Regions from separate parts of the Homo sapiens genome. Here regions 2 and 3 are each linked to region 1. Evidence: promoter capture Hi-C in human tissues and cell types (Jung and others, 2019). All regions are on one chromosome and are shown on one strand. Each heading gives the region's core, a stretch centred on a gene start or on the middle of the fragment in contact. The rest is flanking DNA. Distances are from core to core; before and after follow the strand shown.

Region 1 (4,656 bases), core at 1,122-3,621:
AATGGACATGAAAAGCTATTTATAAAGCTCGGGTTGTTTTTGTTAGAGCATTGAGATGAGGGAGAAAGGGAGCAAATTCCATTATTAGCAGCAGTGTGAATGGTGGTGGTGGTGGTGGTGGTGGTGGTGGTGGTGGTGCTGGGGGGTGGGGGGAGGGCGAATTATCTCTCCCCTTTAAAAAATCAATTGCTTGTTTCTTTTGCTGATATTTGGGAGTGCTGTCGTGATTTTACCCATCCCCCGCAGGCCATACCCAGTTTTTCTTCTCTGTATAGGGACTCTCCTGCCTCCTTTTTAGTTTTGACCAGTGGCAGAGTTTTTGAGCCATAGTTTGAATCATCAGTGAGGTTACAGGAAGAAAACCTGGTGGAAGCTGCCTAAGGTGTTGCTGTTTTAGGCTGGGACACAATTATGGGCTTTCTTCTAACTGCTTCTTATTTTGCAAGATCAACGGTATTTTATAATACAGGGTGGGAAAGGAGTATGAGAAGGGGTTTGGAAATCAGGCTGGAAATAGGTTGGGATTGGGGGAGGATCTAATCCCCCTCCCCCTGGGCGACCCTAGGCATCCCACACAAGAGGGCACCCCATGTGGTCTTGTGAAAAGCCCGAAGCCCTGAATGAGTCTTAAAGAGAAATTAGCCCCGGCTGGTAGGTGTCTCTCGGCGGCGTGGAGGGACTAGGGCCGGTCTGTGTGTGGCTGCCCGGAGGAGCTGACCAATTGGTCATGGTGCTGAAACCTTTGTGGGGAATCGTGGCCAAGTGCACTGACTCTGTGGGAAAACGGCGGCGTGAAGGGATGCCAACAGCTCCTCGCCGGGAAGGGAACCGCCTCAAATTGGGACCATGACAATTCCTGCTAATTTGTAGAGCAGGGAATTGGTGCAAAGTGTCAAGCAGTCACTGCTTGTGCTCAATAGGGCATCAAATTGGCGCGACGGATTCATGAATGTTATACGCCTCGCAACCTCTGAACCAGAGCATAACCCCGAGGGGTGGACGGAGAAATACGGCTTCGGAGCAGGGAGCGATGGGCCGGGGCTGGGGCGCCGCCCTGCCTCGCGCAAAGAAGGGGGACGAGACCTACCTGGGAAATAAGAAGATCTGATGAAAGGCTGAAAAGACCCTTCGAAGTAGGGAAAGGCGAAGGTCTTGGGAGGGACGCTCTGGAGCAAGGCTGGGGATGTTTCTGGTGGGCGATGGAGGGGGGACAGAAGGAGAGAGGGAGACAGAAAGAATCTGATTACGTACTTGCCTATTGTATAGCACACTGAACACACGATATAATTAGCCCTTCATCTGGTTTCAAAGACATCTTTCTTATACGTTGACAGGGTAAAATAAATCTTCCCAACATTGTCTTATCTGTAAAACTCTTTTCTTTCTCCCCAACGTAATTCTCTGCGCCGTCCCACTCTACCCCAATCTCCATCCTAGGCACTAACGAGATAGGACTGAGTGGGGAGGAAAGAAATTGCAGATTTATAATATTTGCTAATCCAATAAATATATCATATTGAGTTTAAAAAAAAAAACTGTCTCCTAGAAGCTCGAAGGCAGAAACGCAGACGTCCAGGAGCGTGCGCTCAGCGTTACTGCACCAGATGACTGCGCACAGTCTCCGACTGCGTGTGCTCAAGTTCACTCCGAGGATGGGGCGAGCCTGGAGGCTTTTCTTCCCCGGAATTGACTGGACTATTCTCACATTGCCTGACGTAGGGTCTCAGAGTTCGTGCGTATTGTGTGTGCACCGATGTGTGTGTGGGGGCCCGCTCGCTAGAGGAAACTGAGGCCAGGATGACTCCGCGCATGCCTAGTACCTGAATGGGCCCTTAGGGTTCTGACCTCGCTTACCTGTTCTGGGCCCCGAGGAGAGGATGGCGTTCACTCCAAACTTCAGAAACGTCGTCTCGCTGGCAGGGGAGAAGGCAGTCGGCGGAGAGCCGCCCCGTCGGCTGCCGGGACCCGGGGAGCCCAGGTCCGAGGCCCCCGTGTCGGTGAGGGCCGTGGGGGCCCCCTGCCTGGGCGGCGACATGCTGGCGGTGGGCACGCTGCGGGGCAGGTAGGCGGGGGGTCGGCTGATGCGGATCAGATCCTCCACCAGGAAGCTGGAGTGGCCGGAAAATGCCGACTGCAAGGACTGGGGCAGCGTCAAGGTGGGCGTGGGCCGCAGGAGGCTAGGGTACCCGGCGGGGGGCGCGAGGAGGCCGGGGAACATCATGGTAGGCGCGGGCGGGCGAAATAACCCTTCTTTCAGTGGCCGGAGGGTAAACGCCTCGCTTCCCGCCCCTCCCGCCCCCACAGTGTCCTCTCTCTTGGGCTTAGCAAACGTCTCCAAGTAACAATCCCACTTGGGCGTCTGCGAGTCCTCCGTGGTCCTCTCGTCGAGGTGATGGTTTTATAGTGGCCCGCCCGCTAAAGCACTTTGAAAAGTGACAGCTCTGACAATGAAGTTCAACAAAGTTCTCCACTCGAGCTTCATTCGCCGGAGGCTCTGGACTCTCTGATTGGCGCAGGGGTGCAATTTATGATTGGATTAGTCTTCATAAGCATGGCCCGCACAATGGGCCGGCAACAAAGGCCCGCGCGCATCAATTTTGCATATCGACCGCCTCTTTGCAATACAGTGCGCCCCCAAAGCTCTCGCCAAAGGTTTTTGTTCCGAAGCAACACCCGGGCTAATTAAATGCCTATTTAGAAGTTTCAGATGACATCTTGCCTCATAGAAAAGGAATTATTTAAAGAACCCACTAAATTTATTTGCAGCTCCCCTGCTAAGCCTGGAAAATAAATCAATAAATATTCATAGAAATACATCTTCAGGCTATCAGCAAAGTTGCCCTCCCTCTTGTGGGGGTAGGGCAATGAAAAGTTTCAAGTCAGTGGACATGAAAATATACTCCCTTTCCGGTCTCTAGCCCTATCCGTTACTCCAGCTGAAGCATAAAGCAAATGTAGGGGTGAGTGAAATCAGTGTTAGAAGTCCCATTCTGACGACTCAGGGAAACTTGGAAACGGATGCTTTGGGGCCACTGGATGTGTGTCCGTAAGAGTGGGGAGAGGTCTGGAGTTATTTCATTTCGGGAGACTGGTTGAGTTTGAGCGTTGGTGGATACCTGAAAAGTAAAACGAGTCTCCTTCAAATTCCCAGCAACTTGGAAAACGATTTTCTCTAGGAGTTTCTGCAAGGGGCTGTCCGCACCTCACCTTGCGGGAGGAGCGGAGGAGAGCGGCGCTGGGCTGCCGAGCGGCAGGATTCCGCTTGCAAAGAGCTTAGGCTGACCGGAAACTGCCTCGGGCAAGGGTATCCAAAGGCTGTGAGTGCTATGCTGGCCGTTCTCCAAACACAGGGAGCTCTCGGCAGTTTAAGTTGAAACTCACAGCCCTGACATTTTAAGCCATAGCAGCGAAGGTCCAGACGTCGTCTGGAGAGAACCCTACCACTTGCGGGGCCCTTAACTTGGCCCAAGGTTTGGCAGCTTCTTAATTAACTACAACGCACAAACGCGTGAAAACCAGAGGGAAGGGATGCGGTTCCCAAGAATGTTGGTCCACTCCGGGAAAGCCTCCCCTGAATGTGGGGCTTCAAAGGAGAATCTTCCTGGAGACAGTCCCTTCGCTTTCCTCTGGTTGGGGCTGAGGTGGTACTAAGACTCGATTCCCCCCATTTCTCTGTTCGGCGAGATAACAGATGTGTTAAATGTCCCATTCATCTCTTTAGTGTGGCTGAACCTCCCCAAAGAGAAGTGTGCAGCCCCGCCAGGCCGCCCTGATCCTATTAACCATGAACTAACTGTCACCTTCAGCTGGTTTTCCTTTTTGCTTTTTAACACAAAGCTTTCTCAAAAATCTTATTAACCAGCTTTATTTCTCTCGATGGTTTTGTTCGGGGTGTTTTGTGTTGATGATCTCCATGTCGCTGCTTTAACCATTCAATAAAAGTGCATCTGCGATTTATATCACATTAAACCAGAAACGGAGCCGGCTAAAACTCTCCCTTGATTCAAATTAAAAAGTTATTTAGGGCCCAGCTCCAGAGGCGAATTAATGCTAGAAGATGACGTAAGTGCGGAGTTTCTGAGCCCAAGACCGCTCATGCTCATGGGCAGCGGGAGAAAACCAATCAGGAAAGAAACAACTTTTAAATAAGGGGCTATTTAAATATGGGAAGCGCCTTGCTGGAGTTAATTGGAGTCCCCTGGAAACGGAAGAAGGAGATCTGTCGAAGAACGTCAAAAGTTCCTTTTTGAAGTTTGCAATAAAATAGGTGAGAAAAGCATAAGCTATCTGAACACCTGCACTTTAACCTTGCCATGAGACAGTTTCCCATTGCAATAAGACTGGCTCTCTCCCTTCCTCTCCCTTACTTTTTTCCTCAGGCCCACCTCCCTCCTTCTCCCACTCCCTTTCCCTCTGCCCCCCACCCCTTTTTCTCCCCGAGTCTTAAGGACTTGGGCAATTGCCAGTTCCCAGAAGGACGCGCCGGGGGCTTCAGGATGTTTGATTCCCTACCGGTGAAGCGCTTGTCCAAGTCTTCCGGATGATCAGAATAGAGTCTATATTTGCCAAAATCAACTTGGATTTTGTTTTTTTTTGGAGGGGGGAACGGTAAGAACTTGAAGCCAGCGTGAGCCCTTCCCAGCTCCTCCTTCCCTG
Region 2 (4,967 bases), core at 1,546-4,045, 100 kb after region 1:
GTACGCAAGCATTTTCAATTTTAACTGAATCCTTGAAAATAAGATTGCATATTCTTAAGAAGTCTTAATATACGGAATACAGAATGATTCTTTTTTTCAAATATCAAAGTCAAGTGACCATACCTGTTTAAAAAATAATTTGAGGAGGTAAATTTCTAAACATGCATTCAAATTGACCCCATACTTGGAAATCTCCGAAAAAATTAAGTTAGGGAGGCAGTAATCGTCCATAAATGGATTTTCTGTTGTGTAAATGTTTATACAGATGTTGTAAGTGAGACTTTTCAACAAACTCCTTAGGTTGCTGACAGCGGACAACTTTGCATATGTGTGTTAACAGGAGAATGTGCTGTGTTTCAAATGAATGGGGAAGCGGGTCTAAATGACTTTCAGATTAGCTGGAACAGATGGAAGGGTCACAGTTGAACAACTTGACACGCCGGCATAAAGGCATCATTGAAGTGCAGTTCATTGCCTCTGACAGATACTGTCAATCAACCCTGGCTTTCTCTCAGTTAACCAACAGCCTGGACCTTTAAAGATTTAAAAAGGAATTTTTAGAAAAGTATCTTGGGGCAAGAACTTAAGTTTATCTGGTTTATTTCAGCACTTAACCCCATCTCAGACTAAGTTTTTAGAAATAGAGCAATGGATTGTAAACATTTTAGAAACTAACATGATATAAACTTGACATTAGGGGCTGTCACTAATAAATATAAAAGTTTCCCCCACATTATGTCTTTAGAGGGTCCTATTATCACACTAATTAGAACACTGTGCAGAATATCAGAATGAAGAAAATGCTATTTTTTTAAACTGTCCAACTAGAATTTTGATCAGCTGTTATCCGAAAGACATGACCAAGCAAGTATAAAAATATATCATATTTAAAATTTTTTTTTTCTTTTTTCTGGGCCAACTTGATGTGTGGCCTAGAAAATGTGTTTGTAACTCGATGTGTGTTCAACTCTTGTGTGTGGCCCAAATGATAAAAAGTAATTAACCATTGGGAGCTACTCTACAAGAAGAAGGTGGAGCTGGAGATTTAGCTTTGCGCCTGTCAGATCACTAGGAGACCTTTGAAAGTCTGAAGATCCATCCAGACCATCAGCCTAAGGTGGGCTCTACAGAAACCCTCTGTTTGCTTTCCTGCTTCAACACAGCTGATTGATTCAAATTGACATCCTGGTTCCTGTATGCTTCTATATAGGTTACTAGAAGACTGGAATGCTGGAACTTTGAGAAAGGGGATTGGTATTTGCACTTCTCCATCAGGGAGGAACGCTGAATCTTAATCATTGGCTGCCTGTGGATCGCATTGTTTAGCCTGAGAGTGCCCATGGGTCCAGAGGTGCTAATTTTTAGAAGCATAGGGAATCTTGGACAACATGAGTCATGACTGTGTGGTTCACCCTGTAGCCTGATCTCCTTCCTTGAGGCTTACATTGTGGCTTGAAAAACAGATGGGCAGTGGAAGCATCTTGTTGATGGTATTTTTATGGCAATGGTGGTATTTTATATCCTAAAGGCATGTTCATAGGACCATAGATTGTAGCAAAGCTCTGGAGGGTGGAATGCAAGCCCCTTAACTCTTGTGCTTAACCCTGTCATAGCCTCACTATTTCCTCCTCAACAATGCCCATCTTAGAAAACTGTCTCACTCACAGTCTAGAAGAGAAAGCCCAAAGAACTGCATGGCTCCAGCCTGGTCACAGCTGCTTAGACTCATGGGGACACGAAGCCCCAACTTAGCCAATTAAAGTCTCCCTTACAGGAGTTTGAAATTTAGGCTGAGAGAGCCGGTTAGTTTTGGTCATAGAGCAGTAGGCATGTTGGGTGGTCAACAAGGTTCTATAAAGCAAGAAGAATTTTAGGAAAAAATAAACTAAAAGCTTGGCAGAGGAAGCTAACCTGTAAAGAGGAAAAGTTGATTAGACATGGAGAAGGGAGCCAAGGTAAGAGATGCACATGGCTCCAGGCAGAGGGAAACATATAAACATCCTTTCTGTTCTCACAAGACCCTGCTCTACATTGTACAGTTGGGTTATAGGCAATTCACCTTTATCTGCACACTAAACTCACTTTTACCCAAGTTAATTTGATGGAGTTTTTATTCTTTATAAACAAAGATTCTGACCAGGACACCATGGAATTTTCATTTATTTCTTTAATGTAAAATATGTATTAAGCATCTGCTATGTGGCTGGCTTTGTGCCAGCCTCTGCGGAAACCATAAGGAATAAAGAGCAGGATATACTCCTGAGGACTCTACAGTTCATGCCAGCATCTCATGCATTCCCATCACCACCTCCACCACTGCCTCCAAGCCACTCATGAGATTTCTGCAGAGCACAGGGAAGGAAACCAAAGTCGTCCTCCCCTCCATCCTCTCTTCCTTTTTTCATCCATTTCTTTAGTAACCTGCCCTCAAGGCAAAATGCACTGACTATGGGTGACTGCAAGGTGGCTCTTTTCCTCATTGTTTGTTCCCTGCCTCTCCATCTTAAGACATCTTTCCCCAAGTCCAATTTTTATAGATCCCCACTAAGAAATAACTATATATTAATTGATGACTATAATTTAATGTGGTGTTTATATCACTTATATATTCCTAAAGCAGGAAAAAGCTCTCCCCTCCACCACCAAATTTAGTGGCTTAAAAGAACAGTGATCATTTATTTTGCTCATGAATCTGCAATTAGAGCAGAACTTGTTAGGAGCAACTCCATCTATGATTTCAGTGGTATTAACAGGGACAGCTTAACTCAGGACTAGAAGATACACTTTCAAAATTGCTCATTTACTTGGCTGGCAAGTTGATGCTGGTCGTCAGCTGGGTTTGGGCCTGGAGCCCTCATTTCTCTCTACATGGACCTCTCCACTAACTACTTGGGCTTCCTTACAACAACGTGTTGGGTTCCAAGAGCAAGTGTCCCTACTTAACTATGTAAGATAGTGTGGCAATGTGTATTTTCCAAAGATAAACACCATAATATCCACTTGTATGAGCTAGCCTTGGAAGTCACATGGTGCCATTTCCACCATACTGCATTGGGCAATACAATTATTAAGAGCTACCCAGTCTCAATGGGAGAGGACATAGATTCCACCTCTTATCTGAGAAATAGCAAGGGTCTAGAAGAGCATGTGGTTTGGGGGATATTATGGTGTCTGCCTTTGGAAAATATACTTTGCCACAATATCTTCTCTAGTTAAATAGCATTTTAATCTTGGCTCTATTTTAATCAGGGCTCATCTAAGAAAGAGGACACCAAAACCAGTAAAAGTTAAAAGGGATTATTAAAAGAAGGCAAGGATATCTCACAGTAACAATATATAGGAAGTATAGCTCAGCCTTGTAGGAACTCTATCGTCCTCTCTCTCAGGATCCACGTGGCCTCTGACACTGCATCTCTCTTTGCATTTGGTTCAGCCTCTCACAGGCTCCGTCATCAACATTCCTGTGGTTGGAAATGGCTGCCCAGTATAGATTCCACATAGCCTTTCTATACAAGTGCCCCTACCCCTCTAATGTCTCAGCATCTCTTGGACAAAATATATAAATGATTCAGCCTAATCTACAGATTGTTACCTTGGGTCAGAGGCCCAGCCCTATTCCCACTAGCCCTATTCTCATCACTGTGGTGAGTGCGGCCATGTCATGTTATATGAACATGACTTCCCGGCAGGGGACAGAGGAGGAGACACTGCCAAAGACAGGGAGATGGTGGTCGGGTGTGCAGAGTCGGGGAATGAAGTGGTTAACTGTGTCAGGTCAGCATCTTTCTGTGAGTATTAAATAATTTAATATAAATAGGGCTTTAAAAACAGATGTTAGCATGTAGAAATGTTCAATAAGCATTCAGTATTTTTAGGTTTCGTTTTTTTAGGCAGTTACCCAAAACATAATCACTTCACTCTCCTTTTCCCCAGTGACTAAATAATAGAAGCATTTTGGATACCCTGACTGGAACATGAGAGGAAATATTCTGGGACAAAAGTAAATTTAGAATTAACACTGAATGATTTCCATAAAAATAGTTGTTTTCATACTGAAAACAATTGCAAAAGTAATCTAGGAAGAAAAGATAATCAGCAAAAGCATGCTTATTCCCTTGTTTAGCATGTGTTCAAAATTTAAAAAGTATTAAATCGAATAATTTATATTAATACAAAATTCACAAGGAAGAATTAATAGTCAAAGATTTCTATGCGTCGACTAACCAAGGGTGAATATGCATAAAGCTGAAATTAGGTAAACTATGAAGAAAAATTGAGAGACAAAATTATTGTGAAAGATATTGATAGTATTTTCTTATATCAACCGGACAAAAAACAATTTGCAGAATAAAATTAGAAAAATGTATATAACAAAATTTTTTAAGCAACCATGGGTCTTATAAAATATTGAAAATACACTAGGCTGCCAAGAAAAGCTCAACACATTCCAAATAGCTTTAAGTGATCTACGCAATTTTAAAAGAAGTTTTATATGCAGTTTAAAATACTCTCCTAAATAATCATTGGGTTAAAAAAAAAAACAACCCTCCAACTAATGACTATTTAGGAAGAGGCATACATGAGAACACTGCATGTCAAACTTTATCAGATGTGGAAAAGTTGTACCACAGCAAGACTAATGATGTTAAAGGGGTCAGCTTTTAAACACAACCAATAATTACATGAAACATTATGTTTGAGAATAAATGAAAGAGGCCAGGCATGGTGGCTCACACCTGTAATCCCAGCACTTTGTGGGCAGAGGTGGGAGGATCGCTTGAGCCCAGGAGTTGGAGATCAGCCCAAGCAACATAGGGAAACACTGTCTCTACAAAAATAAAAAAATCATCTGGGCGTGGTGGCACATACTTGTGGTCCCAGCGACTCAGAGGCTGAAGCAGGAGGATCACTTGGGCCTGGGAGGTGGAGGCTGCAGTGAGCCATGATCCCACCACTGCACTCTAGCC
Region 3 (4,958 bases), core at 1,488-3,987, 120 kb after region 1:
TACCTCATTTTTGCTTTCTGTATGTCATTTCATTTCCTCTGACTGTAAATATAACCTGCACATGTGGTGGGATGAAGCATTCTGAACCATTTTTCTATTTGTTTTAGAGATGGGGGTCTTGCCATGTTGCCCAGGCTGGAATGCAGTTGCTATTCACAGCCACAATCATAGCGCACTGCACCCTTGAACTCCTGGGCTCAAGTGATCCTCCCACCTCAGTCTCCTGAGTAGCTGGGACTACAGGTCCACACCACCATACCTGGCTTCTGAACCATTTTTGATGTAAAATATTGCCCAATTCTAGAATTGCAGATAGAAGCCAATTAACATCTGCAAAACTAGTGTGAAAAGAAAAACTTTAAACAAATTAAATTTAACAGAGTTTAATTGAGCAAAGAATTCTTGAATGAGCAGCCCCCCCAAACCAGAATAGGTTCAGAGCAACTCTGGTGTGGCTGTGTGGTTGGAGAAGATTTATGTATGGGAAAAGGAAAGTGACATAAAGAAAACAGAAGTGAGGTATAGAAATAGCCAGATTGGTTGCAGCTCAATCTTTGCCTTATTTAAACATGGTTTAAACAGTTGGCTGCAGTTCTGCTGCAGAGTGAGTGGCAAGGTTGATCTTTCTCTGAGGTCGTTTCCAGAAGACCCAATCTCTGCGTTCTAGATCATGATGGTCCTCAGTTGGTGGATCATGGAAAAGCTTTCTTTACCTTGTGACAATACACTTTGGCATAATGCATTAAAGCTTGCAGCATTTAGTCGTATGGGAGTTTAGGAGCAGGAGATACATGAGGTTCTATTATTAGGGGCATAAGCCTACCAGTGACTATTTATAGAAGATTAACTTTTAGTTTGCACTGGAAGTAGATCTGATTGTCATCAGTCTGCAATACCTTTGACCAAGGCAATCCTGTCGATTCAATTAGCTTTACCTAATGCCATTGTATCTATAATATCATATTTAACTGTTCTGTAATTCGTCCAGTGAAACAAGTACTTTTATTGTTAGAGATTTTTCCAGGAGTGTCCTATGAGGGAATCACACTTTCTAATAATCTTTTAGCTATTGTTATAGCATCAGCCTTCTTCCATGGGAAAGCTTCTATATTGATATTTAAAAGGATATAAATCCTCTTAAATTGATATTTAAATATCCTCTTAAATATCAATTTTGTTTCTCCAATTCAGGTGCTTAACTGTTTATTAAATGGGTTATCATAGGTAATTTAACTTGGATATGGAATTCACTCAAATTGTCTATCTTAACAATTTCAGTACTGGCTGATTTAGCATGAAAGTCTGGCAAAGTATTTCCTTGGTATATAACTAATTCTTGTTCTGCTTGGGTTAGCAGTTTTATAAACCAGCCAGTCTCTTTATTAGAATTCCAGGAATTCTTACCCAGTCCAAACGATATTATCCTAAAGTTATCAAAAATTTCTATTCAGCAGTGCTTCTCAGGGTCCTTTCCATACTTTCCATGAACTTCCTTGAAGACACAACACTCTAGGATTTTACTTGCTTGCAAAGAACTTCCAGGAAATGCATCAGAATTCAGCAATTAACTGTGGAAAGGACTTAGAATGGTCATGGTTAAAGACACAGTTGACAAGAAAATTTGGTTATTTCTGTGGCCTATAATAATTTAACATAATAACCATAGTTATGATGGGTAACATATAAAGACCTACTAGAATTTTAGGAATCTCATGCAATTTTGAAAGATATATTAATAACATATTCATAAAAATGTAACTTGAAGAAGGTTAACCATTATTTGTTATTTGACAAGGTTTCCCATATAATTTAACATATCTAATAAGCCTATTTATTATCTCTTTTAGATGCTGCAGGGGCCCTCCATAACATCCCAAAGTTAGTTTGAGGTGAAAAGCCTTAATTCTGATTTTGAAATTTGATTTTTGGAAGCCTGTCAAATATATCAAAAGTTTAAAACACTTAATCAAAACAGAGGCCAGGTGTGGTGGCTCATGCCTGTAATCCCAGCACTTTGGGAGGCCGAAGCAGGTGGATCACTTGAGGTCAGGAGTTGGAGACCAGCCTGACCAACATTGTGAAACCTTGTCTCTACTAAAAATACAAAAGTTAGCTGGACATGGTGGTGCACACCTATAGTCCCAGCTACTCAGGAGGCTGAGGCAGGAGAATTACTTGAGCCCAGGATGTGGAGATTGTAGTGAGCTGAGATTGCACCACTGTACTCGAGCCTGGGTGATGGGAGTGAAACCCTGCCTCAAAAAAAAAAAAAAAAAAAAAAAAAGAATCACAAGTCACTGTAAAATAAAAGTCATTCACTTAGCCAAACAGATAATCAACTATTTTTTTTTAAAAAGCAAAAACCTTTATTCTTTGATAAAGAGGAGACTATTTTCCAAAAAAATCAAAAGACCTAATAAAAACGGTATGAGATAGAATCTGTCTCCCTCTCCCCACCTTTTTTTGTAGTTTATGCAAATTTGAATGAAAGTATTTTACTGTCTCTTCTTAATACTACATAAAGTTTTTTAAAAGTAAAAACCAAATTTTACTTTTGTATTAATGTATTATTAATATTAAGCTAATTTTAATAAATTTATAAATATATCATCCAATCTCAGTCAGCTTTTAACCACATAAGATCTTCATAAACCTTTTATAATTTCTTACAAGATTTTTCTTTTTTCTTTTTTAAGCTTTTTATATTTTAGTTTTATTTATATATTTTTTATTTTTGAAATTAAAAATTACCTTTAAATAACTTTTAAACTAGACAAAATTATTTTTTTAACAAACACACATTTTTATTCCTTTACAACTTTCCTCACCAAAAACATATTTTGCTTTTTATATACTTTGTGTACAGAATTTTAAAGTATCTAGTAGTTTGAATTACATATATTAACTACAATTTTAACTCTAGTAACCCAAATTTCTAGTGAAAACCTAGGATTTAAGTTTTAATTGTTTTATATTATTATTTATAGATAAAAACCATATTACATATTTTTAAAAAGATATACTTTCTCAATTTTTTTATTAACAGATCTAAATATATTTAGCTTTTGTATACCACATAAAAATAAAATGCCAAAGTATATAAACTTAAACGTATGTTTAATAATTAATGTTTCAGCTGGGCACAGTGGCTCACGCCTGTAATCCCACACTTTGGGAGGCAGAGGCGGGTGGATCATTTGAGGTGAGGAGTTTGAGACCAGCCTGATCAACATGGTGAAACCCCGTCTCTACTAAATACAAAAAAAGTTAGCCAGGCGTGGTGGTGCATGCCTGTAATCTCAGCTACTCTGAAAGCTGAGGCAGGAGAATCACTTGAACCTGGGAGACAAAGGTTGTAGAGAGCCAGGATTGAGCCACTACACTCCAGCTTGGGCAACAGAGTGAAACTCTGTCTCAAAAAGTAATATAATAATAATAATTAATGTTTCAGTATTTTAACTTAGAAATGACTCAAACACTATATTATTTTTACTTAATTTATTAAATTATTAACATGACTGTAAGATTTTAAATTACTGAAGAGTTTTGAAACTGTGACATAGATAAACTCCCTAATGTCTTTCCCAGTTTTCCTGGGTCCCAAGTAACCACATGGCACCCAGAAGAGCTATGAAAGGCAGGACCCTTCTATGTCCCAGATATAGAGTTCAGGACAGAGAACACAGTGGTGAAGAGTTGCTTGGAGGATCCAACCAATCCCAAAATGGCCAGGAGGCAAAGTTGGACCAGGGAGGATAGGGCCATGTGGGGCGTGGCTCTGCCTTGCAGCTGGTGATTGAACTGTTGAGACTATGTCCCTAGGCCTCAGCATGGTCACCTGTCCAGACCTCAAAAATCTAGAGGCTCAAACCTAAGACAGGCTCACAGCAAGATGTGTGCAAGGCTTTAGGAGAGTCTAGCAGCCAACTCTTACAGCTTTAGCTCACAGACAAGTCAAACAAGTGTGACAAATATTACAGAAGTATCAGTTTTATGACCTTAAAACATGTAGCTAAGACAGAATAAACCTGTCTGACCAGTAGACTCAGGTAAAAATGTCTCAATTATGTTTAACTGACAATTTTGAAGCCTTTTATATTTTAGTTTGCTAACAATTCGAAAACTAGCTTCATTTACCAAGGATTATCACATACATATAACATACATAGATGTGTAGATATACAGACACACCAACAATGATTTTTGAATGGATTTTTTAAAGTACAGTGTTGTTCATTTGGAAAATTCCACTATAATTTTAAATTAGCTTTAGTAAGATTTTGCCATTTTATAAGCATTTGCTACTTTCAGGGCCTAATACTTATATGTGTATAGGTAGATGTAGCCAAAAGATGGAGTACTCAGTTTTTCAGAAACTAAAAATCCCATTTTCACATTGAATCTTGCCTTTGGCTCTTGGATCCCCTTTTGATCAACTTAGTGATTTTTTTCCCTACCTAAAGCAAGCAAGAAAAGGAAACAAAGGGGATAGAACACAAACATGTCTGCAAATTTTTGAAAGCTGAAGTCCACACCTCCTGCAGTACTGACATTTGCTGCCAGTTTCTGTCTATAACCCAGTCAGACATCTAAACCCTCTATCTGGATCTAGACCAGTTAATTATCAGATTCGATCAAATCCTGGACCCAGTCCAGTTTCAGTTGTGACTTCTGAACCAAGTTTGGATAAAAAATTTGCTCAAACAAACTTGGATAGCCCAAAACACAAAGTCATGGAGCTTCAGAATCCAAGACAGCAGTGACACAATGGGCCCGGCATGTACCTCATTTGGCCACTTGATGCTTTTGGGGGTCACTGAAAGTTCTACTTCTAACAGCACTTCTGACACCATCTGTTAAAAAACAAAAAACATAAAACAAAACAAAAAACTTAAATTGAATTTAACAGTTTCATTGAGCAAAGAAGGATTCTTGAATTGGATAGCCTGTTTCCCTGC

Evidence for each region. Contacts are between HindIII fragments. The study calls those that stand out against the background at their distance.
Region 2: a contact is called between a fragment that was not itself captured here and the fragment with the promoter of DBX1 in region 1, in 2 of the 25 tissues and cell types used here (mesendoderm cells and thymus).
Region 3: a contact is called between a fragment that was not itself captured here and the fragment with the promoter of DBX1 in region 1, in 2 of the 25 tissues and cell types used here (neural progenitor cells and thymus).

The regions. Positions count from the first base shown.
Region 1 is chr11:20,158,104-20,162,759 of GRCh38, forward strand. It overlaps DBX1 (developing brain homeobox 1), which reads right to left and starts at 2,372. Exons shown (of 4, transcript NM_001029865.4): 1 at 1,855-2,372; 2 at 1,088-1,189. The coding sequence starts at 2,221. RefSeq lists enhancers at 2,752-3,253, 3,254-3,753. The HindIII fragment of the contact is 9,910 bases long and covers 1-4,656 here.
Region 2 is chr11:20,258,281-20,263,247 of GRCh38, forward strand. No RefSeq gene overlaps it. Among named protein-coding and RNA genes, the nearest start is that of DBX1, 100 kb to the left of the region's middle. The HindIII fragment of the contact is 4,702 bases long and covers 445-4,967 here.
Region 3 is chr11:20,279,692-20,284,649 of GRCh38, forward strand. No RefSeq gene overlaps it. Among named protein-coding and RNA genes, the nearest start is that of HTATIP2, 82 kb to the right of the region's middle. The HindIII fragment of the contact is 4,025 bases long and covers 726-4,750 here.